2 separate regions of the Homo sapiens genome follow, and region 2 is linked to region 1. The links are contacts of gene promoters, found by promoter capture Hi-C in human tissues and cell types (Jung and others, 2019). All regions are on one chromosome and are shown on one strand. The core of a region is centred on a gene start or on the middle of the fragment in contact, and the rest is flanking DNA. Distances in the headings are between cores, read along the strand shown.

Region 1 (2,700 bases), core at 64-2,563:
CTGGACGGCTCTCGCCGCACCTCCTGAGCTCAGCCCGCGGCCCCGCAGTGGGGCGGCCTCACTTACTGGCGGGGAAGCGCGGGTCTGGGTTGGCGCCGTACCATCCGGGGCCAGAGGCGCTGTTCCTCATGGTGTCCTGGTACGGCGGCAGCTCGCTCATGTTGCCCAGGTTGCCGTTGCAGTAGCCCCCCACGGCGGAGTGCGAGAGCTGGGGCACCCCCGCCGCCGTCATGTGGTAGGCGGCGGTGACGGCGCCGTGGTGCCCCACGGCGTGCTGCTGCATGGCCGCTGTTGGCGGTGCCGCCTGGCCCTGCCTGTACGCCGCCAGCGGAGCCCCGAGGCCGCCGCCCTCCATGCCCACTTTCTTGTAGCTTTCCTCCAGGGGACTCAAGATGTCAGACACTGAGAACGGAGTCGTGTGCTTTGGACTCATCGACATGATTCGGCGGCGGCTGGAGGAGGAAGGAAGAGGAGGAAAAAAAAGGGAGAGGGGGAAGGCGAAGCCTCGCTGCTTTTTTTTTCTCCCTTTGCCAAATATTCTGGTGTTACCTTAACGCCGATCTTGTTGGATGTACACGTAACGGAGTGGACCGAGTCCTCCTTAATTGGCTTGAGTGGAGGCTCGGGGGCTGCCTCGCGTTTGTTTTAGCCCGGCGCCAGGTTTTAGGCAGCCACCAGAGGCGGGGCGTAAGCGCTAAAGCAACAAGACAATAGAAGCCTACATCTTGCCCGAGATAATTAGCTTACATGCTGATGACAAGGTAAACACCTTTAAGTTTCACTTGTCAGGATTTTTAGGTCTCAAAGAGAGAGAGAGAGAGGCAGAGACGAGACCCAAAGCATTTCCCCCCTCCCTTGGACACCCCCACCCCCATTTTTTGTGGGGTACCAGCGGAGCGCGGGGAGGAGGTGGAGGGGAGGGGAAGGAGGAGGGAACCGAGAGCGGGGAGGGCAGGAGGTGGGGTGGGGGAGTAACAGAGGAGGAGAGATGGTTGAGAGGAAGGAAGGTGAATGCTGCTTTGCAACCAACTTGCGGAGTTACAAAGTGGAACCACTTTCCAATTCGGTCGGGGTTCCCCGGGCACGGACAGGTCTTTAGGAGGAGGGGGCTGAGGGACAGGGTGGGGGTTTCACCTGAGCCTGCCGGGGCTGCTCCTCCCTCCCGCCGCGGCCTCCCAGCCCCGCGCCTTCCCACTGCCTCCGGACCACATCGGGCTTCGCTGCGCTGAGCCCCAGTCGCCAACAAATGAGCGAGCGAGTCTGGGGACGAACCCTGGGGCCGCACTGTTGGTCTACGTGTCTGTCAGTCTGTCTGCCTCTCTTCTGCCGCCGTCAGAGGGACACCTCTGCTCCCCGCCCCCTTTCCCCCTACCGGAGAGAATCCGAGCGGGCGGAGGGGGCGCTGAGTAGGGGATCGACTGCCTCCCGGAGGCTGTCCCGGATCCCCGAGCCACAACCCGCCCCCGCAGCTCAGGGGTTTTTCAGTGGGCCACCCCCGCTAACACGCCTCCCCCAAGGTCTTCCCCCCCCCCCCCCACCCCCGGCCGAGCAAACACAGCACTGGCCCCCAGAGCTGGGAGGATGGGAAGGGGTCTCACGGGAGGGTCCGTCACTGAAGTTGCCCCACCTCGAACAAACCTGGTGTCCCTGACCCTCGCCCATCTCCCAGACACGCGGGGATCTGGGGCTGGAGCTGACTTTCCGAGGACATCACAGCCCCAGCACCCGAGCCCAGAGCCACGCTGTTTTCCCCTCTGATGCTTCAGGGAGCGCGCGAGCAGGGAGCGGCGTGAGTGCCCGTCTGTCTGTTGCCGGGCGGAACTGAGCCTGAACCCCGGCGGCTGGAGCGCTGGCCAGGAGGGGGCGAATGCCGAGGTGCGGGCAGCTCAGCGGGCGGGAGGCTGGGCCGAGGCTCGCCTCCGCCCGCAGCTCAGCCATGCAAAAGTGCTCTTGCTTCCCGGGAATAACCAAATATCTTTGTTTAAAGTGGTGGCGTAAATGGCCAGTCGCTTTGTGGCCACGCTGGATATTAGTAGATGAGGATCATTCTGCTTCAATTGGGCGCCTCTCATCCGACGAGCAAGAAACTGCTTAGGAGGAAGAGGGTTTCCTGTCTGCGCGTTCCCAGGCTTCAAGTGTGGGCCCCGCGCCTTGAGGGTCCTTGGGCGCCTGGCGAGGGGGAGCTGTGGGCTGCGCTCCCCAGCGGAATCGGGGGTGTCCCCCGCGTTGCTCCGGCCAGGCCGGGGCCTGCAGCCGAGTCGACTACCGAGTGGAGCACTGAACGGCGCGGATTTTGAGACCGACTCCGGTTTTTGTCCTTGGATTTTAAACGTTTTTATCATTGTTTTTGTTTTGCTTTCTCCTTAGCTGTTTTAGTCTCCTCTGCGCGCCAGGGGCTGGGAGGGCGGAGCGCTCCCCGGCCGGCCCCGGCAGGTGCCTCCAAGACACCCGCGCTGGTCAAGGAGCTTCTTGAATTTAGTTTTTGTTTTCACATTTTCTTTCCCCTCCTTGTAGAGAAGGAGCTCCTGATCATGACGAACAGGCAGTTTTGAGCTACTTAATTCATCCGGGCTCCCTTTTTTTATTAATAGCAATTACAGTAGAGAAAGTTTTATTTATTTTTAAAGATTTCAGCCCTCTCCTTGAAGAGAGCTCTTACTCCCTCAATACAAAGCCAACTTCTATAATAACATTCGCTTT
Region 2 (2,700 bases), core at 4-2,503, 77 kb before region 1:
CAGGGCTGGGGGAGGGGATTGACTGCAAAGGGGCGCACGGGAATTTACTGGGGTGACAGAAAGATTCCACATCACAATTAAGGTGGTGGTTACATGATTGTATACATTTGCCAAAATTTACTACATTTACAATTAAAATGAGTGGATTGTATTATACATTGCTCAATAAAACTATTTTTAAATAGCTTTAGTAATAAGTGAACTAGTGCTTTTTTTTTGGTGATCATTTGCAAGAATACTCCAAATTCAATAAGAACCAGGATTCTCTTTTCAAAAGTCCAAAAACTAGTAACAAGTGCTGTGTTAGATTTGAAGAGCTGGAAGGACTTTACATACTTAAATTCCATTTTAATCTAGTTGAAACTCCCATAGAAAGAAGAAAAAAATACATTTTTAAAGTACAGATTTTTATTCAATAATTCTTTAGTTCTTTTCTCTTTTAACTTCCCTGGGGGGAGCAGGGAACTCTCATTCTGGTACCGATATTTGGATTAAAACAAATATCCACCCATTCATTAAAAGTTTCTCTCATATAAAGGAATTCATTTTTTTTCTTGATTGGTGCTAGACTCACAGACAGACAGAAATAAGCTGCCATTCTTCCATTTGATAGCCAGACGCTGCCAGTTGTAGCCAGGGTAGTCATGCTGTTAAATTAGGTCTAATGAAGGAGTAATTGCTTTAGATATAGTGAACCATTTCAAAGAAAACAAGGATTCTAATTGATTTGCAATTTGTTTGGCACATTGCATTGTCTGCGGCTATTGATTAGTCTTCTGGATTTCACACTGCATGTGTTTCCCTTTATTAAGGGAATAACAGGTTACTGATTACTTTCTTTCTGGGTTTAATGTAGCGGTTAATGTCTACTTTGTTCTTGTGTCATGTCACAGGCGAGGAAGGAATAATAGGCAAGTGGGTGGCCCTTTGCTAAGCAACTTCCCTGCTGCTCTGAGCTGTGTGCTCTGAGACAGGCTGAAAAGCAGATCAAGAGAAAGGGTTAGAATAGCAGGACTCACAAGTTAAGGCCTGAGTCAGGCTAGACCCAGCTCAAAACTTGGCTTTCCCCTCCCAGTCAAAGCATAGCATGGGACAAAGCAGCTGGTGGTAGATTTGTTCTTGTATCATTCGATTATTTGTAGACAGGATATGAATCTATGCCCATTGTTTTGCTTAATAGGTATGCATGCTAAATGGATGCAGAAAAAGAATATTTGAGGGTGAGGTCTTTTGGTTCATTTAACCCTTTGGAAAGTGACATTTTGTTGGCACCTGGGAAGCACTTGTTGCTGAGGTGTCGATATGATCATCAAAATGGCTCTTATGTTTATACCAACTGCAGGGGAGGGAGAAAAAGTTCTCAGGGTTGCAGTCATTTCATTGCCCTCAAAGCACAGCAGGAATTATTAGCTTACCCTGGCGTGCCCCTTTGTTTTCCTAGGGCTTTGCTCCTCCAGCAGATACTCATTTAAGGCGAATCCACTGCTTTCTGAAATGTGTTTTGCAATGGTGCACAGAACAGGCACTCACTTAGCGGATCTAATCCTTTCATGGCTCAGCTTGTTAATGTAGCAAACTGCTGAAAATGGGAAATGGATTCTTTAATGAGAACAGTCCCTTCATGGCTTTATTCTCCCAGTCCAACCCCCAGGCATTCATTCAAGTCCCCCCACGCCCGACCTCCCACGCCAGGATCAGGCACCCCCACTTCCCACCCAGCAAGCAGCCCATTTTCCAGCACGAAGTCCCCCATCTCTAGGCCCCTTGCTTCCCCACGACCTTCCCAGAGCCCTTGGAAGCTCACAAATAACAAAGGGGTGTAGGCAGTAAAAGATTCCCTTTCTCTGCTTCAGTTACCTCCTTCCTAAGCCTGAGCCCGTCTTTTCCTGTGCTTCAAATCTGACATGGTTATAGAGTGGAGCCTTTTCCTGATAAATTGCAAAGTAGCTAACACCCAGGGATTACATCTAAATTTATCAAATAAACACACTTTTGATATAAACATACTACCCAAGGTATTATAGATTTAATATCTTTCTTTAACATAGCTTTTGTACTATACAGGTTGAATATCCTTGGGACTAGACATGTTTTGGATATTTTTGGATTTTGGACTATTTGCATATACATAATGAGGTCTCTTGGGATGAGACTCAGGTCTCAACATTAAATTTATTTACGTTTCATATACACCTTATAGACATAGCCTGAAGGTAATTTTAGACAATACGATACTAATTTTGTGCATAGAACAATGTTTGTGTTAAGTGCTATTAAGACTTTTTTTAAAGTGTTAAGACTTTTCCACTGTGGCGTCATGTGAGTACTCAAAAAGTTTTAAATTTTGGAGCATTTTGGGTTTTGGATTTTCAGATTAAGGATGCTCAACCTGAATTGGATTTTATAATGATGCTGATTGCCAAGGGTTTCAAAATGGAGCCAATCAGTGAAAGTTAACTTGGACTCTGGTCTTTATTATTTTTCTTTTACGATTTTTACTCCTGTGGGTCTTCCTGAAGCTTTGGTACTTCTCTAGAAATCCACTCCAAAGAAAAAAAATCAGGCCTGGCACAGTGGTTCACATCTGTAATTCCAGCACTTTGGGAGGCCAAGGTGAGAGGATCACCTGAGGTCAGGAGTTCAAAACCAGCCTGGCCAACATGGCAAAATCCCATCTCTACTAAAAATACAAAAATTAGC

The links. Contacts are between HindIII fragments. The study calls those that stand out against the background at their distance.
Region 2: a contact is called between a fragment that was not itself captured here and the fragment with the promoter of NKX2-1 in region 1, in 4 of the 25 tissues and cell types used here (H1 embryonic stem cells, hippocampus, neural progenitor cells and 1 more).

The regions. Positions count from the first base shown.
Region 1 is chr14:36,518,919-36,521,618 of GRCh38, forward strand. NKX2-1 (NK2 homeobox 1) reads right to left here and starts at 1,314. Exons shown (of 3, transcript NM_001079668.3): 1 at 1,135-1,314; 2 at 67-452. The coding sequence starts at 1,211. It overlaps SFTA3 (surfactant associated 3), which reads right to left and starts at 638. Exons shown (of 5, transcript NR_161365.1): 1 at 550-638. NKX2-1-AS1 (NKX2-1 antisense RNA 1) reads left to right here and starts at 360. Exons shown (of 2, transcript NR_103710.1): 1 at 360-761. RefSeq lists enhancers at 730-1,729, 1,730-2,700. The HindIII fragment of the contact is 7,239 bases long and covers 1-2,700 here.
Region 2 is chr14:36,442,106-36,444,805 of GRCh38, forward strand. No RefSeq gene overlaps it. Among named protein-coding and RNA genes, the nearest start is that of NKX2-1-AS1, 76 kb to the right of the region's middle. RefSeq lists an enhancer at 1-2,700. The HindIII fragment of the contact is 5,707 bases long and covers 1-2,700 here.